Regions from separate parts of the Homo sapiens genome. Here region 2 is linked to region 1. The links are contacts of gene promoters, found by promoter capture Hi-C in blood cells and fetal thymus (Javierre and others, 2016). All regions are on one chromosome and are shown on one strand. Each heading gives the region's core, a stretch centred on a gene start or on the middle of the fragment in contact. The rest is flanking DNA. Distances are from core to core; before and after follow the strand shown.

What was found. The method cuts DNA at HindIII sites, captures the fragments that hold promoters and counts their contacts. A CHiCAGO score of 5 or more calls a contact.
Region 2: a contact is called between the fragment with the promoter of OR5K4 here and a fragment that was not itself captured in region 1, in 4 of 17 cell types (endothelial precursors, naive CD8 T cells, naive CD4 T cells and 1 more). The highest score is 7.4, in endothelial precursors.

The regions. Positions count from the first base shown.
Region 1 is chr3:98,052,904-98,058,549 of GRCh38, reverse strand. It overlaps the pseudogene OR5BM1P. Among named protein-coding and RNA genes, the nearest start is that of GABRR3, 20 kb to the right of the region's middle. The HindIII fragment of the contact is 2,440 bases long and covers 2,582-5,021 here.
Region 2 is chr3:98,350,899-98,356,531 of GRCh38, reverse strand. OR5K4 (olfactory receptor family 5 subfamily K member 4) reads right to left here and starts at 2,678. Exons shown (of 1, transcript NM_001005517.1): 1 at 1,713-2,678. The coding sequence starts at 2,678. The coding sequence ends at 1,713. The HindIII fragment of the contact is 1,273 bases long and covers 1,655-2,927 here.

The DNA of each region.
Region 1 (5,646 bases), core at 2,552-5,051:
GTGTGAGAACAAACTAACGTAGAAGCCTTTGATGGTCTATTTTTGGATAGAGCTGCTTGTTCTAAAAAAGACCACAGGAATTTGCAAATCCTTTAAATGCCAGGGAAACCTATGACCTGACTTTATCTGAGATGCTTTAACCACTTTCAAGAACTAGACTATTTGAAAAGTGTTAAGTCACAGAATCTGAAAGAAAAAAAGTATATTTACACAACAGCCCTCTTGAGTTGTAAAGGTTGCCTCTAACATTTTGCAAATGAAAACGTCCATAAGTCTCCCTGTATAAAGGGGTACATTTCATTCTTTGTGGATTTTTATGGTTTGTTCATGGCTTCCAAGTCAAAGGTTTCCTGCTCTGCAGCACTGTAGTAACTTGAAACTCATCTCCAAAGATATTGCTCAAGGGTATGGAGGAAATGTTATATAGTGCTGAATTTTGTTTTGTAAATAGTGAAAGCACAAAACTAGTTTTTTTTCATTTAAAAATCAGTTTTAGAGCAGTGTGGAGTTGCATAAGAAGTAAATACCTGAGTTCAGTGAGAGCTACATAAGAGCAAATTAAATTACCTATCGATTCAAGGAATTTCATATATCACCCAAATAGAAGGTCACATACAGCCTGAGTGCTCCCCTCAGTGATACTCTGGGGCTCCTGGTCCCATCACAACACATAGAGGGAGGAAAACTTCTAGGCCACCCTCTGCCTAGCCATGCTGCAGGCCATGCCCCAGTGTTATGCAGGAAAGACTGGTTCCTTTCTACACTCTAAAACAAGACTCTGGCTAGAAGACTTCCCTCCCTCAGGCTCTATTAAAACTATCTACAAACCTCTGAAACTCCAAATTGGAGCCTGTAACAACAAAATTGGGATATAGTTACCTGACTGCTTCCCTTTGCTCTCTATCCACTTACTCTTCTCCCCTCACCACTAAGTGAGAAAATATGGGCTCATTTTTTACTTCTCTTACTTTGTATTCTCCTTGTGCGATGAAGAAACCAGGCTTAGCCTAGCAGACATAGCCATATTTACAGTATAGAACTCTAATCTCTAAGACTTCCAGTTCATTTCTTAATATACTAAAAATCTGTGTAAAATAATGTAATATTCCTTCAAGACAAATTCCTGTTTTTGAAGTCAGAAGAGGAATTCCTTTTTTTCTCTTTGCATTACTTCTACAACAATTTAAAATATATTCCCAGACAGATAGAACCCTTATGCAAACTATGGAACCAGCTCTATACTCAGAGAGGCAACTGATAAAAGAAAATTAATACTTTTCATTCTCTTCCTCCCCATTACTTTCTCTCCTTAGTAAACATGAGTCCATTCAAAAGACTCTTACTCTTTTTTAGGGTAAGAGTCTTTTGAATGGACTCAAGTTTGCTAAGTTTGCTTACCTTGCTTCTAGAAAGACCTGAGTTGAATTTTCTACTATGTTCTGTTGTAGTTTGGCTAAGTAAAATTGGTTACTGGATGAAAGTCTTTTCTCCTACTAGGAAGCTCCCTCCATCCACAGTATAATGCATCCCTGTCCCAGGAATTCCAGCTACATGGTCAGCAGGGCCTCCCTTGTGTAGGTATGAGCATAGGGTGGACCCACTGGAGGCTGAGCAGTTATCTTTGTAATGGTGTCAGAAAGTGTAGGCTGTCTCCTCAATCTTTTCTTCTCTTTCTCCTCTCTCATATGCTCATGTTCACTTTCAAGTTGTAGTTCCATCTCTGCCTCAGTTGCCTAGCTTGTGTGGAAATAGGTGGATGAGCTGATTCTTGCACGATTCATGTGATGTCCCTTCCCAATCTGCCAGGATCTCTCATGTTGGCCTTGGCTCCTGTGAGACAAGCTGCAGGTTCTATTTCTGACTCAGCTAGGGACTCTGAATATGTCCTCCCACACCTAGTCTCTACAGCATGTCCCAGGCCATCACTTATGAACTGAGTTATCACTATTGGACTTGGGCTTTTCTCAGTGAAAACAACTCTCCAAAAGTCCAGAGTTTAAGAAGAGGGGTTAGTCGATTGTCCCGTATCCTATTACTTCCGATCCATTCTCTCATGGGTCATGACCTCAGCCTGGAGATGACCGGAGTCTGTGATTCTAATCAATGATTTTGTTAAGCAGTTCATGGAATAGATATAGCAAGAGCTGTCATGCTCTAAATGACAGAAAATTAACTTGACTAATTTTAATTTTTTCATGTAAACCTCTGAGATGAATATGAGAATATGGAGCAGGGAAAGGCCTGTGATCTTTTGGGAGTAAAGTGAAGGTCTCTGTCCTACTAATACTGTCTGACTCTTCTGGGCTTGGCATGGTGCCAGCTTTTACAGCCAAAGTCAGTGCCTATTGGAACTATTGATCTGGTCAACTAGTATGGGTAGGGTCCCAGCTGCCCTCCAAGGCTGTTCTGACTCTCTTGGGTCTCATTGATGTGGTCACCCCTCAGGGTCTCTCTTATGTCCTCCACCTACATGTCCCAACCCACCTGTTGCATGAGTGAGTCTCTTGGCTTCTTTCTGTCGCTGCAGGAATTTGCAGGTCCTGGCCATGCAAGATGGTGATGGGGACCAGCCTCTAAAGCTTAACCTTCAAGGGTCTGCTGCCTACGTACTTTGCAAACCAAGTTTACTTTGAGGTAGCCAGGTAAGGAAGGAGCAGAGCCAGAAATGATTTCTAGTGCCATAAATTGGAATCTGGACAAAACACACTCTTTTCCAAGTCTACCTTTGATGTACGCAATAATGCTCCTGCCACATATGTACACATCTTAATTCCCAGAACCTGTGAATATGTTAGGTTACCTGGCAAAGGGGAATTCATGCTTCAGAGGTAATTAAGGTTGTATGAAAGAAACTGAGGTAACTAAGGTGCAGGCATTCTAAAGTGGAGCTAGGAGATTGTGAGAGAATTGCACTAACACCTCTAAAAGTCAAACCACAGATTGTGCCAACGGACTTGGATGAACAATGGAAGTTAGTGTCTGCCAGTCTTCAACATTTCTCACCTGGGAGTGCCCTAATTAACTAACCAATTAGTACAGCTCTGTGATTTGGGATTTCTGCTCAGCCAATGAACTGCCTCTTTAAGGGACATGATTCAGGACTCAGACATAAGTAATTTAAAAGTCTGCTCTTCAGGCTATCTTGTTAAAAGGTCAAGTACTAGATTTTTCCCACCTCAGAAACTATGAAAAAAAATGTTAAAATAAGAAATTAATTTCCATTGTTTAATATTTGCAAAACTATTGTCCCCTTTGACTATATAGCTGCCTGTGGCTGTTTTCCTCTCGGGGAGTGTGAGGATGTCAGTCCTGCTCTATGTGAATCTAGCTGAGGAAAGCATGTAGAATGTAGTACTCTGGTCTCTAGGTCTCAACCCAAATCAGTGGGGATTTTTCTTGAAATAATATAGGTGTAATGATGAGAGAGAAAGGTTATACATTGACATACGGCCACTATGTAGGCAAGACTAATCAGCCTGTATGGCATATTACATATAAAATTAGAACACTTTGTCGCTGGGGTTGACTATAGAGAGATGGAGACAGGAACTCCTGCAGAGATTCTGCAGCCACAGGGTACACCTGCTTAAAATGGAGTCCCCACAGCAGAAGGCACAGCTCAGATGCAATGAGAGGAACCGGGTTCTGAAAAAACTGAACCCTAACAAACTATTCCTAAAGCCACTGTGCCTCATTTGGGGCTTTGGGTTATATCATTCAACAAACTGCCATTTCTTCACTTTTTTTTAAAGCCAGGGTAAAAGCAATGTATTATGCATATGGAAAAATCTTTCTTGAGTATTTTCTCAAGAGAATACTCTCTTGAGTATTCTCAAGAGTCTAAGTAATAAAAGTAAGGAGGTCAAAGTTTGCCTACTCATGAAAGGGCCAGATAGAATATATACACAATGTAGGTAAGAAAAAAAATTAGCTTAATATATTTAACTGACAGTTGATCAAGCACACCTGCTGGTTCAGGCAGGTGTCAATGCCAGAAAACACTATTCAGGTAGGATATGTGTGTCAGGAATGCAGTGCTCAGTAGGACTACTCAATAAATTAAAAAGTAAAAGTTTTAGAAGAACTCAGAAATTTTCTAACTATATTGCAGAAATTTGAATTACTTTTAGTATTTTTGTTGTTACATTTACATATCTTTCAATGGAGGCAATGAAACATGTTACTTTTCAAAATTGCTTTTAAACCAAATGGAAATCTTAGTTTTAAATGTTTTAAGAGGATATGTGTTGTCATATTTGGCCTAACAGTATTATTTTTATTAACATTCTGATATATTATTATAAATATCTGCTAAAGAGAAAGTTTGAAAAATGCCTTGTTCAAGAATTATTTAGAAGTGCATGAATACTTTGAACACTTTTTAAATTATATAGGTGGGGTCTTCCTTTAAATAACTGCAAGTAAGTTCTAAAACATGTATGTCTGTATTTCATGTAGTTCATTCATGTTACAAAAACTTGTTACTAAGTCTTTGTAAAATGAATGAACTCTTGTGTTTCATTCATGTTACAAAAACAGTAATGTGGCATTATAATTTCAGTTTGAACTTCATCCTTGAGTATGTACTTAAAACAACAACAAAAATGTGGTGTTTGTCCTTAAATGCTCATTAACTATTTTAATGATCAGAATAACTTATAACTAAGACAAGAATATTTAGTCTAAATTTTTTTATTCATTCACTTAACATATTGTGTCCCTACTATGTGTAAAACACAGAAACAATTATTACGATTTGTTTTAACAGAAAGGAAATGGAAAGAATTATGAAAGTGTTCTCCAAAAATATTTCTTTATCATTGTTCTAAGTGTACCTAAAACTTCTTTGTTTTTCATACTGTAAATAAAGGAGTCTGCAGAGGAATTATAATCATGTAGAACGGAAAATACATTTCATTCCACTGTTAATCTGGGCCAGACCTGGGGCACCCATACATGAAGAAGACACTGCTATAGAACAAAGAGACAGAGAGCAGGTGGGCACTGCACATGAGGAAGCTTTTGCTTCTGCCCTTCTCAGAATTCTTTTTCAGTAAGGCAAAGAGGACTTGGGTATAAGAAACTATGATGATCATAAAAGCAAAAGCTTGTATAAAAGCAGTGAAAACCACAAAATCACTAATGAGTTAATAAATGGATCAATGTAAGAAATTGTATATTGTACACTGAAAAAATGGTAAGATTTTTTTAAAATACATATTATTTCTTGAGGGTTATAGAGGAGATTCTAGACAAGAACTAACTAGTCCCATAGCCTGCCACTCATAAGTACCTTAAAATTGAATGTATTAACAACGAAGTGTTTTAAGAGCAAAAGGTACACGGTATATTTTATGCCAAAATCTTAGAAAATGAGACTTTGTTTTGGGTTCAAAAGTGTATTTTCTCATTCTTTCAGGAACTTTTTTATCTTTCTAGAACAAAAAATGATCTGATCCTCTTGGTATTACAAACGGGACTATCACAGTCAAGGTGGAATAAAACATTACAAAAACATCATAGTAGAAAGAATGGCCAGTGTTTTGAATATCTGGATTCAATTTAAGTGATAAGTTAAATAGTAAATTATAAATTTTATTTAAATAACAAATTAAATGGGGAGAAAGGATTAACCAAATTAATAGG
Region 2 (5,633 bases), core at 1,429-3,928, 300 kb before region 1:
GGTTGCTGTATATTAAAAATCAAACTATGAAAAATGAAGGAAATACAAATTTTGTCTACAAATATATATCTAAATGACAGGAAGATATACATTTTAACATGAATGGAAGAGATAGTTACCCAGTTGTCCCACGGCTACTGAACAATCCTTTATTTCCTTGTTATTTGTGATGCCCTTCTTATTTTATATGAGAGTTTACTTTTGAACAATCTGATTTGTTCTGTTGGTTTGTTTATTGATTCTTGATTTAAAACCAAACTGTTATCATTATTGGAATTTTATCATATATTTTAATATATAACACATAAGGTATTTTTTTTATTTTCTAGAAAAATCTAGAATATGAAAAAATTTTAAATTCATTTTGCCAGGTTCCCAAAGAAGTTCTCCTGAGTGTTTATTTGAATTAAATTAGTTTATAAATATTTTTTAGAGAAACAGCCAAATAAAGTTATATCTTTAATATGCCATATACTAAATAAATTCCAGGAAGAATCAAGAGTCAAGTTGCAAAAATTTAAAATATCAAAAAAGGAAGGAGGAGGAAAATAGGGAGAAGGAGAAGAAGAGAAATAAGAAAAGGAGAAAAAGAAATATTGGTTAATAGTAGACTGGATTAAAAAAGAAATTCTGGATGAAATGCATGAAAGAGATCATAGAAAAAATAAGTAAATATGAGTATATTAAATTAAAATATTTATAAATATCAGAAACAAATACTAAGACTATCAACCCACAGAAGAATTATTTGCCACAAATAGTTGTGATGTCTTTTCTCTGTAAACAATGATATAAATAAGAAATAAAACAGACAAAACAAAAATGACAATTCATAAAAGTAAAAATGGTCAATAAACACATAAAATATTGGTACAGCTTACCATTACTCAAAAATAAAACAATGTCATTATTAATATGTTTTAAAATGTTTAATGAGTGTTAATATGTAAACTGTAGTTATATATAATACATAGCCAATAACATGGTTGATGCCTTCAAGAATGAAAAGGAACTTAATTATGCTTCTGGCTAAAGTAGACCTTAATCTACTCTGTCCAATTTGTTATAAGTCACAATTAATTATTCTGCAAAATAGAATATTTTGTAGGTGAGCCTCTTTGCATGTGTGTATGTGTGTGTCTGTGTCTGTATATGTCTGTGTATGTGTGTGTGTGTTCCTTTTCATTTTTTTTCATTCTTGCAATCTTATCTAAATAAAACTTCATTACCTTAAATATAAATTACTGCAATTAGTTTGCTTCTAGTCTTTTCCACTCTAAAGTAATCCACATGTGTCTCTCAGGTCAGTTTTCTGAAAGAAAACTATCATTTCACTTTTCTGCCAGGAAATTTTAAATGTTTCAAACACGCTACATAGGATTGGATATAATGTCTTCCATTAACTAGGAAACATTAATCAAAGAAGACTCTTCTACACATTTAAACATTTAACTTTCATGCTATGTTGATTAATTGAGGTTTAGGATAATACTCTCTGACAATTCCATGAGAGTCATGAAAGGTAGTAATAACAGTTACCAGTGAGTTTCCCCGATTCATTCTGGTTGTGGGATTTGGATAAAGATTTGTGAAACAATTTTGAAATTCCATTGATATATTTTTTAAACAAACATAGCCTAATGATTTATAAGCTTACATTTTGTGTAAAATCACATATTAATTTTTCTATGTTCCCTCTTTATGAAAGCATTTTAATAAATTAAAAATAAATTTGCTATAGAGCAAGTTTGTTTAAGAATGTTATAATTCCTCATAATTTTTTTAAGAACATTTATGACCTCCTTATTTCTCAGACTATAAATAAAAGGGTTTAGTAATGGGATTACTATTGCATAAAATATTGCCACTGGTGTATCTTTATCTCCTTCTTCAGATGGTCCAATATACATGAGAAGACAAATGTAAAATATTGAGACAGAGAGAAAGTGGGATGCACAGGTAGAAAATGCTTTACCTCTTCCCTCCTTGGATTTCATTTTGAAAACAGTCAAAAGGATGCAGAGATAAGAGATCAAGACAGTAGCAATGGTAAAGATTTGAATTGGTATTGAAAAGATATATATCATTAGTTCATTAATAGAAGGATCTGTACAGGAGAGTCTATACAGTGGAAGAATATCACAGAAAAAGTGGTGAATTTTATTAGACCTGCAGAAAGTTAACCTTAATAAAAGCCCTACATGAATCATGGAATGCAGGTTTCCAGCTTTGAAGGCCCCTGTGGTCATCCGAATGCAGAGCGTCTTGGACATCATGGTGTGGTACTGCAGTGGGTGGCATATGGCCACATAGCGGTCATAGGCCATTGTCGCCAGAAGAAAGCAGTCTGTGGTTTCAGCAAGACAGAGAAAATAAAATTGTGCCATACATTCATACAGGGAAATAATTCTATCCTCAGAAAAGAAATTCTCTAACATCTTGGGGGTAACAGCACAGGAACAGCAGGAATCCATCAGAGCCAGGTTGCCCAGAAAGATGTACATTGGTGTGAGAAGACGACGCTCTACATAAATTAATGCCACCAGACCAAGATTCCCCACCATGGTGACCAGATAGATGGCAGAGAACACCACAAACAGAAGCGTCTTCAGCTCTGGATAATTTGTAAATCCTATGAGGATGAATTCAGCTGCTAAGGAGTGATTTTCCCTAGCCATTCCTGGCTTCTCTTCTGAGACATAAATTGTAAAGAAATGTAAGATTCCAAAGCAGAATGTTTCTAATTCTCACCCTCTAATTTCCCTGTATACAAAAGGGAAGAAAGTCTTCTTCAAATTATCCTGTGCCATCTCCTAAACACTAGCACACTCACTGTGGGTCAAATCAAGTGAGAAAAAATGTATCATGGATTGTGTACCCAGGGCTTGTCTGAAAATATCTGTGTGAATTCCTAGGGCAGGAAAGCTTTATCTGCATGAATTATCCTATGCCGATGTAAAATCTGTGGTCAGTACATATAATTTTCCATTTCCAAAATTAAGACATTTTCTTATGGTATCTTTTCCTCCAGGAAAAAGTAAACAAGTTTTAAATCGTATCCTATTGGATCAATGTGACGCTTAAAATGAATTACTCTTAAGGCATTTTAAATGTCTACATTTTAAAAACTGCACAGAAACACAGTGATTTGAAGAATGCTTTTGCTAGCTTAGTAACCCTTTCCAGATAAGGTCACCAATTGCATATTTTATGAGATATCTACTCATCCTTTTAGAGAGGATAAGAATATGAAACATCTATGAGTGTTCTTAATCATTGTATTGGATATCATTTTTATGTTCATTTCAACATATTCTAGATACTATTCCAATCTTGGTATGACAAATTTCCCAAGGAGTTATTACTCTTAATTGCTCACTTATCCTAATACTTTCTGTCTCTAGTTTTAAGAGTTTTACATGCATGTCCAACATTGTAAGATTTGGTGGCAAAATCTCCACTCATAATGTGAATATTCTTCATGGTAAATATCTATTTTGTATTCACTCAAACATCTCTCATAGAAAGTAATGTCTTCATTTTCAGTGAGTTCTATGGAGGTTCTCCATTTATTTACTTGAGTTTTAAATTTATTTAAATTTACAAACTCATTATCTACTCTTTACTGGCTATATATTTATTTGAGTTTAATGATCAACTAAATTTATTATATAGTTCTTATAGTTTGGCAACTGTACATTAAAATATTTCAGGTACAGAAACAATTTGAGTTTTAAAGAATAATAAAATTAACTTTCTTTTCTTTTAGAAGTTTCTAAAAGTCTTTAGCCTTAGCATACTCCAAACAGACAATTTTGGAGAAGAGCCTACGATAGTTAATTCAAAGCACATTTTTTTTTTTTTTGAGACAGAGTTTCAAGCACTTCTCCTGCCTCAGCCTCCCGAGTAGCTGGGATTACAGGCATGAGCCACCATGCCTGGCTAATTTTGTATTTTTAGTAGAGACGGGGTTTCACCATGTTGGTCAGGCTGGTCTCGAACTCCTGACCTCAGGCGATCCGCCCGCCTCGGCCTCCCAAAATGCTGGGATTACAGGCATGAGTCACCTCGCCCGGCCAGTGAATTACTTTGAAAACATTTTGGTTAGGTTTTCTCTGTTTCTTACTTTTGTTTTTCTATTGACTCACATAATATGATGAGGTTTTCTGGAGTTTTATCACTAGAGGCTTGTAATCAAATGAATACAATAAAATGTCCTTTATATTTTAGGTCTATACCTCTTTTAAAAAATCTTTCAGAATTATATTTTTAAAAAAACTTTGTAAAAGTATAAAATGCTGCTCTTTATCATTATTTTAGTAACATCTAATGGAAAATCAACTGAAAATATTTATCAGGTGGACTGTGGAAAAATGGATTTTATTATCAATAATTATTTTATATAGATCATATTTCAGAATATAATGAGTAAAATCTCATTTTCTCTTCACCAATGTAAAATATAATTTTTGAACTTAATCAAAAATTAATTTGCCTATAGATCGCAGAATTACTGTACAAGGACATCATCAGCCTTATCTGTGTATTTGCTGATAAAATTATGGTACTTTTGAACAAAGAATAGGTCAGACTTATCCACTTACTATGTCTCCTTATGGCTTTCTATAATGGCTTCACTTTAGAGACAAAGAGAATTATTAAGTGGCTAAAATTTAAAAACAATAAAAATACTGAAGTATATTAGAAAATTTATATTCTGCATTTTGATACTATAATATAAATAAATTAGTAAATAAAATTAAGTCCTCATATTTTGAGTTCACTGAGAAACATTTTATAGTAGCTGACTGGTCTCCTGATGTTTTTTCTTTGTAGGGAAATTAAGAATAAAAACATTGGTTTTTAAATCATTAGGGAATAAATTATAAAAATCTAGGACACTCCCTACCAATAGGTTAGTGACAATAGTTATGCAAGTCTCAGGCAAAGTTAAAGTTTTCTATTCTAAAGGGACTTCCTCGGCATTGGCATCAGAGTGTTTCTGCAGAGACTCTAATCTGATGAGCATGGTTCCCCCAGCACCAGTAAATCAAACAGCATATAAAGATGGATGCATTTTGAGATTCGGAAGTTAAATCAAAATTGCTATCACTAAAAACAGCTTAAGGTTCATCTTGATTTTTCACATACTTGGAAACTCTCTCTTTCTCTTACACACAGACACACACACACACACACACACACACACACACACACACCCCTTGATTACCTGAAAACTATGATGGAGAGAAAAAGATTTACATTGATCAGTTGAGGTGGAAGTTAAACAGAGATTTGAAGAGAGATTTGTATTTGTGGACAAGAGGCAAAAATGTGGCAGGATCACCCAGGGTTGTATTCCTTTCTTTTGCTCCCCAAATTAATCTGGTCAAATCTTGTACATTCATCCTCTGAAGTAAGTCTGACATTATGTTCTTCAGTTTCACTTATTTGTCATAAGGTAACTTTAAAAAACTTAATTGAGGTATGATTTATGTGCAAAAAGCTATACACATATAATGTATACAACTTGATAAATTGGGACATAAGTATACACCCACAAAACTATTACCATAATCAATGCCATCATCATAAGATAACTTACTTGTTAATTGGTCTCCTATCCCCATCTT